Linked DNA regions of Homo sapiens: regions 2 and 3 are each linked to region 1. Evidence: promoter capture Hi-C in 16 types of primary human blood cells and fetal thymus (Javierre and others, 2016). All regions are on one chromosome and are shown on one strand. The core of a region is centred on a gene start or on the middle of the fragment in contact, and the rest is flanking DNA. Distances in the headings are between cores, read along the strand shown. Region 1 holds the start of FAM200C (family with sequence similarity 200 member C). Region 2 overlaps LOC105377700 (a long non-coding RNA gene). Region 3 holds the start of CLINT1 (clathrin interactor 1).

Region 1 (3,342 bases), core at 325-2,824:
GAGCCGAGATGATGCCACTGCGCTCTCCAGACTGGGTGACGGAGTGAGACTCTGTCTCAAAAACAAAACAAACTGGAAATCATTACAAGATCTGTTAAGAGTCCATTCCTATCCACCTTGACTATGTCTCTCAAGTATATTTTAATTTAAAATTTATCTGTTTTGAACAGTTTTAGGAAAATCAATTTAAAGTATTCTTCTCCATAACCCTCAAAAAGGGAGAACAGGTGGCAAGAATTTTCAAGGGCCTCAAAGATGAACTTACTGCCCAAGAGGCTTGTGTTTTAGAACCTCACAATTTGCACTTGCGCTTTTGTGGTATTTAGGAATTACAATATCCTAAAAAACGTAAACATTAAAAAGCATCATGATAAGGAGATATTGTTAAACAGGCATGATAATGGTATTGTGGTTGTGTTTTTAAAAAGTCCTCATTTGTTAGATACAGACAATTATTTACAAGTGAAATAAGATGTCTGGGATTCCTTTGAAATACGTACTTCAGCACACTCACAAACATGCACAAAGCGGGGTGGAGATAAAAGAAATGACTGGCCTTAAGTTGGTAACTCTTGAAGCTGGATGATGGGTATACATCATTACACCGTTCTATTTTAATGTATTTTGGAAACTTTCCATAATAAAAAGATAAAAAGCATTATCTTAAGATAGATATCACTCATTTTAAGCATGATTCTTTTGAGAGATTATCTTCAGATGCTTAATGAAAGATCTGATATAACAAAGTAAAATGTTTTTGCAAGTTTATGAAGGGTAGATATGAAAAAGTATTACAAATGAGAAAAATCAGTTAAAAGTGAACACTCACAAAACAAATATTTAGGGAATGCTAATATATATATATTCCAGCAGTGAAAACACCAAAGTGCAGCTGTAAACCTAAAACTCCAAACCAAATACAATTCAACTTCTTTCTAGCCACTGCGTATGCAAGATCATGATAGGCGCAGGTGTCTGGGGAGGCAGAGCATTTAACCATTACATTTTACAGTTAAAATCAATAGCCAGGAGAATGGGGGCAGGAACTTGGTGGCTGGGCAGACGCTCCAGGGGCAAACGCCTGGGATCGTGGCTTTGTCACTTACAGGATGGGACCTTTCCAAGCCTCAGTTCCTCCAGAGGGGATAACAGTACCTACCTTACAGGGTTGTTAGGAGATTTAATTATAAGAATGCATGCAAATAACAAGCAGCTCTTAACTGATAGGACCTGATGGTGTTACTGTTAAGGACGGAGATTTTTACAGCCTCCCGGGTGAGATAAGAACGCCAGCTGCTAGGAAAAAAAAAAAAAAGACTCAGCGCGGTCTCCGCCCGCCCGTCTCCAAGCCTGAGGCGCAGGCCTATGGGATGCACGGGCTTCTTTTAGGCGCCCGTTTCAGGCTCCAGTCCCACTCTCCGCTCAGCCTAGGGCCCAGCCTCTGGCCGTCGGAACCAGTAGAGACGGCGGTTCCTCGGGTCCAACCCCCGGGCAGGAATCTGCGGTGCGCCTGGAGAGAGAAGCATCCGCAACAACCTCCGCCTCAGCCAGGCCCGGGTTCCATCCGGGTTCTCCAGGGTGCTTCCCGCCCGCAAACTGGGAGAGGCGTCTCCCACACGCAGGCGCAGTAGCAAAGGGCTGTGGGATGGGCTGGCTGGCTTGAGTATTGAGCATGCGCGCTAGCCCTTCCCAATTTTTTTTTTAAGATTGTGTACGTGGAACAAGAAATCGTTTGTTTATTGTGTCTGCCAGAGAGGATGAACTGTACAATTTCAGGAATGGAAGGGGCTGTAAACTCCACATAGTTCTTTTTAACATGCAGAGCACTTAAACTTTTATATTGTGTCGGGCTTTGAGCTTGGAGATAAAACGCCTGATAATTGCCATGTTCCATGTGGAATAAATGAGAGAAAAAGAGAAGGAAGCTCATTGTAATTTCAGATTAGACATTTCAGCAGTGGAGGATGAGCTTCCATAGCTTGTGTACTGTTGCCTATGCAAGCTGATCCCACTTTCCGTAAGTGGGAGCATAGGGATGAATTTCCATGTCATCATCATATATCTGAAATATTTTTATTTTAAATTCTTTCAACAACATGATTTCAAAGAAATAAACCCATATTAGAGAGGTTTTAGAGAAAAATCCCAAGTAGAAACTAGGAAACGTTGTTGAAAGAAACCGGAATATAGCCCTTTCCTGTTTGGGGGTCTTTCCAGAATTCTTATAAACTTAATGAGTTTACTCATTTTTGTACAATCTTGTTAGAAGCATTCCATAAGACTAGTGTGTGTGAGGAGTGGTGGGGCGTCAACGAATGTGGGCCAGATACATCATTTTCAGGTGTTAAGGGTGAGCCTGGTAAATATTGACGGGCTGCTGAAGTTTTTTGTGGATGGAAGAAACTGCTAAAGACCAGCCTTGTTGGTCAAGAAATTAGGGCCTTCAATACTAGAGAAAGGGGTAGGCTTCAGAATCCCACAGCTAGCTTCATGTCCTGACTCCAACGGTTAGGATTTGTGCAGGTTACTTGGAGTTAATTCCATGTGCTTTTTGTAAAACTTACATATCATCCATTACCCCATGAAATTCTTTTGAGGAAGGAGATAACATTATGACAATTACAGTACATAATTCTCGCACTCAAAAGGCAGCTATTATTGAGATAATAAAATCAAAGCTCAATCTGAGTAATGTCCTAGGCATTATGTTTTTTTCTTTTTTTTTTTTTTTTTTTTTTGAGACAGGGTCTCATTCTGTTGCCCAGGCTGGAGAGCAGTGGCGCAATCTCAGCTCACTGTAACTTCTTGAACCGGGTTCAAGCAATTCTCATGCCTCAGCCTCCTGAGTAGCTGGGATTATAGGCGTGTGCCACCATGCCCAGCTAATTTTCGTATTTTTCATAGAGACAGGGCTCTGCTATGTTGGCCAGGCTGGCTAGGCATTACTTTTCCAAAATAAAACAGAAGACATGATTCTGGATATTACAGAATTCTTCCTAAATCTAAGTAAACCAGGCCTCATAGAAGAGGGAAAGAGGTCCAGAAAGGTTAGGTGACAAGATGCTGAAATTTTCTTAAACTCACAGAAGCTAATCCAGGTTCCCCTCCCTGTCCCATAAACAACTTTTCTGCCAAATATTAGAAATAATGCTACAAACCACTCACAGTTAAGTATTGTCATTTATGTATCTTTAACAAAAGATAAAATACAAAACGGACACAACATCAGCCTTTATGTTGAACCACCCTGTTTAGGTAGGAAAATGAACATTGTTTTTCATTCTTAAAGTAAATAGGAATTAAATCTATTTGCATTGCTGTTTAATTTCATACCAATCTAAA
Region 2 (3,342 bases), core at 579-3,078, 2.9 Mb after region 1:
GATGCTACTTAGTCATCTATAGTACCCCAAATGCCATCCACCTGCAGGACCCTCCCCATTAGGTTCACAACTCCAGAATAAAGCATGTCCATTGGACAGCCAGCCTGATCTCTCTTCTTCCTCCTGGAAGTCGCAGATACTCTCCCCTACTTCCCCTAAACTCACTCGCATTTCTGAAGAGCAGTAATAACCCTTATGAGCCTAATACATCCCTTCATTCTATTAGGTCTTAGTCCTTACCCTACTTTTTGCAACAGGGCTTTACGCAATCACCCCCACTACTTGGACTGCACACCAAAAAATTTGTCATCCCTCCTATCTTCTGTCTAGTCATACTCCTATTCACCATTCTCAACTAGTCATAAATGCCCTGCCCCTGTTTACGTTGCTGGTTTACACATTTCCTCCAAACCATCGTAGAGGATATCTCCTGGTACTATCCTCAATCCACCACTCTTGACTCCCTCTTGGAGTGGATAGATGATCTTTGCTGACAGGGCACTCTCCAATACTTTGACCCTGATGAAGTCCTATTCTTTTCTTTTATACTCACTCTTATTCTCCACCCTTTACCTCTCCCCGGCTATCTCCACCACACTATCAATCTCACTCACTCTCTCCTAGCCATTTCTAATCCTTCTTTAACAAACAGTTGCTGGCTTTGCATTTCGCTTTCCTCCAAAACCGCTGAGGCCTCGACTTACTCAATGCTGAAAAAGAAAGACTCCGTATATTTTTAAATGAAGAGTGTTGTTTTTACCTAAATCAACCTGGCCTGGTATATGACAACATAAAAAAAAAAAAAAAAAAACTCAAGGATAGAGCCCAAAAACTCACCAACCAAGCAAGTAATTATGCTGAACCCCTTTGGGCACTCTCTAATTGAATGTCCTGGGTCCTCCCAATTCTTAGTCCTTTAATACCTGTTTTTCTCCTTCTCTTATTCGGACCTTGTGTCTTCTGTTTAGTTTCTCAATTCATATAAAACCACATCCAGGCCATCACCAATCATTCTATGACAAATGCTCCTTCTAACAACCCCACAATATCACCCCTTACCCAAAAATCTTTCTTCAGTTTAATCTCTCCCACTCTAGGTTCCCAGGCCACCTCTAATCCCGCTCAAAGCAGCCCTGAGAAACATCACCCATTATCTCTTCATACCACCCCCAAAATTTTTTGCCGCCCCAACACTTCACCACTATTTTGTTTTATTTTTCTTATTAATATAAGAAGACAGGGATGTCAGGCCTCTGAGCCCAAACCCGCACGTACACATCCAGATGGCCTAAGGCAACTGAAGAATCACAAAAGAAGTGAAAATGGTCAGTTCCTGCCTTAACTGATGACATTATCTTGTGAAATTCCTTCTCCTGGACAATGAGTCTCAGAAGCTCCTCTCCGAGCACCTTGTGAACTCCGCCCCTGCCCGCCAGAGAACAACCCCTTTGACTGTAATTTTCCACTACCTACACAAATCCTATAAAACTGCCCCACCCCATCTCCCTTCGCTGACTCTCTTTTCAGACTCAGCCCACCTGCACCCAGGTGATTAAAAAGCTTTATTGCTCACACAAAGCCTGTTGACACATGGACGCGCATGACACATGCCCAGCTGATTTTTGTATTTTTAGTACAGATGGGATTTCACCATATTGGTCAGGCTGGTCTTGAACTTCTGACCTCAGGTGATCCACCCAAAGTGATGGTATTACAGGCATTAGCCACCATGTCCAGCCCAGAGTAAACATTTAATATGTCATTTTATCATTCTCCCATCCCCCCCAAAATAAAAGTAATAAATGAGAAAGTTATACACAAGAGCACAAGTGACCTGTTTAAGACTACAGATAATTAGGAGCAGAAAGGAGAGCAAAACCCACTAGCAGACCTCCCATTTAATGCTGCAGCAAACTCATGGTTCATAAACACCTGGTTGATCTGCTTTTCTGGAAATGAATATACTCACTTAGGTAGATAACAGTAATCATATTCCCATCAAAGTTAACATTAATTATTGTCAATAAATTGGAAAGACAGTTACAATGAATTTATATTAATTCTTTGAGGCATGGAATTATTTTTCCTATCTTCAGGAAAGCTTATATAAATAATTTTTATATAAGGCAGAAAGACAGCTGGCATAAGGGAAATTTGGTAGCTGGGAGAGATGTAATATATTAATAGACAGGTTTTATATAAGGTACTTTTTATATGAGGTACCATACTGGTACATCTTTTAGGAAAAAAAGATTTTAAATTATAAGTTTATATTTTATAGTTATCTTTTATCAGTAAAAGTATACTAATCACAAACATTCCAGATTTGAATTGCTTTTTAATAATTCATACAATGTACAACCCTATCAGACTTCAATGGGTGCATAAAATACTCTAAATTTGAGTTATTTTCTCATATTTTATGTACTAGCTTGTCTTAATCAAATTCATTTATTTTCTGGACCATGTACACCTTTGGGTTCTCCTCAAACCTAGAGTTGTGTCTAGAAAATATTAAGGTATTATCATTAAGCCCACATAAGCAGATGGGAAAGCTTTATCATAGGATGGCATCTATCTATCATTAATTGGTCTTCTGCTATGAGGCTGGTGCTGTACTGAGTGCTTTACACTTAGATAGTAAGAATATAAAGCACTTAGTACTTAGGCTTTATAGTAGCCCTTTGATGTAGGGACTATTACACCCATTTCACAGATGAAGTAACAGAGAAATAAGTAACTCACCTAATCTATTATGTGAAGTCAGGGGTGAAAACCCAGGTCCCTTTGACCCCAAAGACCAAATTATTAACAACCAAATGATATGTGCTCTGTTGGGCCAAGAATCAATGCATATTGCATGTCTCTCATGGCCATTTTGATCATGATAACCTGGACACCGATTGGTTTTTCTGAAGCAACTTGAGACTTAATAGAAGCCTCACCTCTCATCCTAGAGAAGCCACAAACTAGAGGCGATCTAAGTCAAGTAAATTGGTGCCACACTTGTCCATATACCTTGAATTGAACCAGATATGGCATGCAGGAAGTTGAGAAGGGATGCTGTTTACTCTTACTGTCCTCTCTGAATTCATCCACATGAGCTAGGGTGAGCAACTATGCTGTTACACCCAGGATCATCTCAGTTTTACCACTGAAAGTCCTGAATCCAAGGAAACCTGTCTATTGATGTGTTACCTCTCTCCCAGCTACCAAATTTACTTTATGCCAGCTGCCTTTCTGCATCCTAAATGTCGATTTTTTTTAAGGAAACATTAAGACTTTACTATATGATAAGCACCATACTAGGTACAAAGGATATCAAGGCCAAAAACAAAAAAA
Region 3 (3,342 bases), core at 240-2,739, 2.5 Mb before region 1:
TAAAATATTTAAGTATAACATTTATTGATTACCACTTTTTAAGAAAATTTCCCTTTTCAGCCTAAATTGTCTACAGAGGATAATGGCTCCAAAATTTGTCTGCTATTGTAAAAACTAGTTCCAACTATTTTTCCTTGATGGAAATGCATTTCTCCAATAGCCATCAAAGGTGGAAAAAGTCTTACTCTAGCCAGGTCCCCTCATTTTACAGATAAGGAAGGCAAAGTCTGGAGATTCATGTGATTCTGCCTCAAATCATACATACAGCTAATTAAAAACGTAATGCCAGAATATGAACCAGATAGTTAAACCCCTAACCTTTCTCTCATAGAAGCCCTCATTCTATTGATCCATCTATCTGAATAGCCCTTAATCACGTCACTGCTTCTTCATTTGCAAGTTCCTTCATCATTTTATACCTCTGATAATCAGACCAACCATTCTATGGATGCACGTCTATTATGGCATTATAAGGTGCACAGTCTAACAGATCCACGGTTCTGTAAGATGCTTACATTTGGGGGGAAGAATTTCTTCTCTTCTTGCCAGTGAAAAGATGAAAATTAAAATCCCGAGTACTCATCAGTAAATCAACCTCATGTTCTAATCTTAATATGTGTCAGACACCCACAAAAGCCTTAAAAAGTCTTTGGTGACAACATTCTTCTATGTTCTTGAATAATTTGGTTCAAGTCTACATCCTAAATTGGGTAGTAAAAAGATAGATAATATTTTTCAACAATAGCTTTTCCTTTAGATAACTACTTACATGGCAAATTTAACCTAAAGCACGTGAAGATTAGTAACAAGTGTGATAAGCAAATATGAAAGGTACAACAATAGTAGGAATATTGCCTCGATTTCTGTCTTACGAACAATGTACAGCCTCTTCAAATTTTTGAGTACCACAAATTTGGTCCTCTAAGAGAACAAGGTGTTTCTTAATGGTTTTATTCTTCTGACCTCTGACTGAGAAATAAGGAGGCAGTGCCAGGCACGGTGATGCATGCCTGTAGTCCTGGCCACTTGGGAGGCTGAGGTGGGAGGATCACTTGAGCCCAGGAGTTGGAGGGTGCAGTGAGTTATGAACACACAAAAGAATGAGACCCCATCAAAAAAAAAAAAAAAAAAGGTAGCTTTTAGTCTTCTTTTGGCCTTTAAAAAACTATTTAAGTTGATATCCTAATCTTTACACAATATACTAAAAAAATGCCAATGAACCTAGATCTGGAAAAGATCTAGTTTATTTCATCTTCGGTAAGCAAAAGCAAAGAATATATAAATAGCTAAATAGTCCGAAATAAATAGCTGAAGCCTTAATAGCCAAATGAGTTGTTATAAAGGAAAATTATTAAAGCAAATCACTTTTCAAACTTGAAGCTTCTTTCTTAAAGAGGTTTATTTCACTCTAAATGCAAAACATTTGCTAGTTTCAAAAGTACACTAATATAAACATATTCTGTTAAGGGCTTTATATGCAATACAATCCCTTAACCCTTAAGCCTCACAACAACATTCTAAGGTAGGTATCGTTGCATTTTCATTTTGTACCAGAGAAAACTAGGGCACTGTGAGGATAAGTAACTTCCCCAAGGTTATAAAGCTTGAACCCAGCTTTGCAGGTTCTGAAACCTGTGCTCCTTAGGCACTCTATTGCCTTCTTGGTAGCACAGAAAATATAAAAATATGGTCAAGCTCTAAGTTCTATCTGATGTATCAGACAAGGCACTGGAAATTACTTTGTTTCCTGGTGTCAAGAAAACAGTTTGCTATCTATACTTCCTGATTTTAGGTTAGGTGGGTGGCACAAATCAACTGTTTTTCTCACCACACTTATTGCATAATCATTAAAGCCCCAAAGGAAGAGGACTGCTTAAATTCTTAAACTTTATTTCCTGCTGGCCTAGAAGACCTTACTTAACCACTGTTATACCTGATATACTCATTTTAAAAGTTAAGGTTTTCCTTGTGCAAGTAAGAGACTAAAGTTATTTCAGTCTTAAAGGAAATCAACTACGTACTGGTCGTTTTACCTGCTTTTAAAAGCAGATCAACAGGATATAAACCTGGGTTGTTTTTTTCCTTAAGAGGACATTTCTTAATGACCTCTTAATTTAATCGAATGGAACAAGTAGCACACCAAAAATGATGTGTAGTGGAAAAAGAAACAGAAGAAAAAATCGCAAGAAGTCATATAGTGATCTACTTTCACTAGTGTTAGAAAAGCAAAGGATGAGTGTCTTCTTGAGTAACTTCAGGCTGACCACAATAGCCACTTGTTACACTACTACCACCCACTCCAACACTTCAGGTTCATTAGGAATTAAGAGGAGGCAAGGAAGATAAAAGACACACCCCAACCAGGTCTAAGGTCTCTCCGTACTACACCTTGAGGGACACAGGGAACCAGTGCATTGTGCCCCCCACCCCCAAACCTTCCCTGCTCCCCAGGAGGCAAAGCCCACGGCCTGGGGCCAAGACAGTCCTCCGGCCAGGGCAGTGACCCAGCGCCAAACAACCCGCCCCTTATGACCAAAGCGTCGGCACCCAGGGGTTGGAATAGGGGAAGGGACGGGAAGGCCTGGAAAGGAGAGAAGGGTGGCCAAGAGGATGTTTTTTTTTAAAACGAGGGAGGGTCCCTCCCCAGCCTCGCCAGCGGGGATGAGGCCCGGGGCCGGGAAGGAGCGGGCCGCCGCCATGATGGGGCTGGCAGAGCCAGGGGGCGTGACGTGGGCAACCCCTAGCCCAAGGCCAGCTCCTTCTCCCCCTCCCCCCTCCCCCACGTGGGCCTCGGCCACAACTGCCCCCCGATACTCACGCTTTGTCCACCAGCTCGCGCACCTTCCACATGTTCAACATCGTGCCCCGCGCGGGACGGTCCGCCGCCTCCCTCTCCTGCTCCCCACGGACCCCGGAACACTTCCGTACCGGGGCAGTTCCAGGCCGGGGTCACCGCCGCCCGCCGCCTCGAACTCCCCCAGTCAGCTCCTTCCTTTGCCACAGCAGCGGCGCCGCCGGTGACACGTCGAGACGCGGCAGCACAGGCGCTGCGTGGAGCGGAAGTGTCCGACTTTCCGCCGCTGCGCGCGGGGCACGCCGGGACTTGTAGTTTTCCCTGAGTGCCGAGCTCGGCCGGTTGAGTTGGGAGAGCTGAGAGGTTGAGTTGGGAGAGCTGAGAGGAGTTGGGATGGTTTCTCTTAAGCTTTCCCAGTCCCCGGCCCCAGACCTACCGAGCCAGAAATTTTGGAGGTGGGGCCCAGCGATCTGTGCTTTTACAAATCCTCTAGGTGATTCTGATCACGCTCAAGTTTCAGAACCACTGGTGCAGGGTCTAGTCACACT

The links. The method cuts DNA at HindIII sites, captures the fragments that hold promoters and counts their contacts. A CHiCAGO score of 5 or more calls a contact.
Region 2: a contact is called between a fragment that was not itself captured here and the fragment with the promoter of FAM200C in region 1, in 1 of 17 cell types (naive CD8 T cells). The highest score is 5.5, in naive CD8 T cells.
Region 3: a contact is called between a fragment that was not itself captured here and the fragment with the promoter of FAM200C in region 1, in 1 of 17 cell types (neutrophils). The highest score is 5.6, in neutrophils.

What each region holds. Positions count from the first base shown.
Region 1 is chr5:160,398,480-160,401,821 of GRCh38, forward strand. It overlaps FAM200C (family with sequence similarity 200 member C), which reads right to left and starts at 1,575. Exons shown (of 2, transcript NM_022090.5): 1 at 1,160-1,575. It overlaps SLU7 (spliceosome associated SLU7), which reads right to left. Exons shown (of 16, transcript NM_006425.5): 16 at 3,162-3,342. RefSeq lists enhancers at 1-216, 536-1,221, 1,115-1,264. The HindIII fragment of the contact is 7,568 bases long and covers 1-3,342 here.
Region 2 is chr5:163,338,980-163,342,321 of GRCh38, forward strand. All of the region lies in intron 1 of LOC105377700 (a long non-coding RNA gene), which reads right to left. Among named protein-coding and RNA genes, the nearest start is that of CCNG1, 97 kb to the right of the region's middle. The HindIII fragment of the contact is 541 bases long and covers 1,559-2,099 here.
Region 3 is chr5:157,856,112-157,859,453 of GRCh38, forward strand. It overlaps CLINT1 (clathrin interactor 1), which reads right to left and starts at 3,034. Exons shown (of 12, transcript NM_014666.4): 1 at 2,819-3,034. The coding sequence starts at 2,859. RefSeq lists enhancers at 2,664-3,245, 3,083-3,322. The HindIII fragment of the contact is 223 bases long and covers 1,379-1,601 here.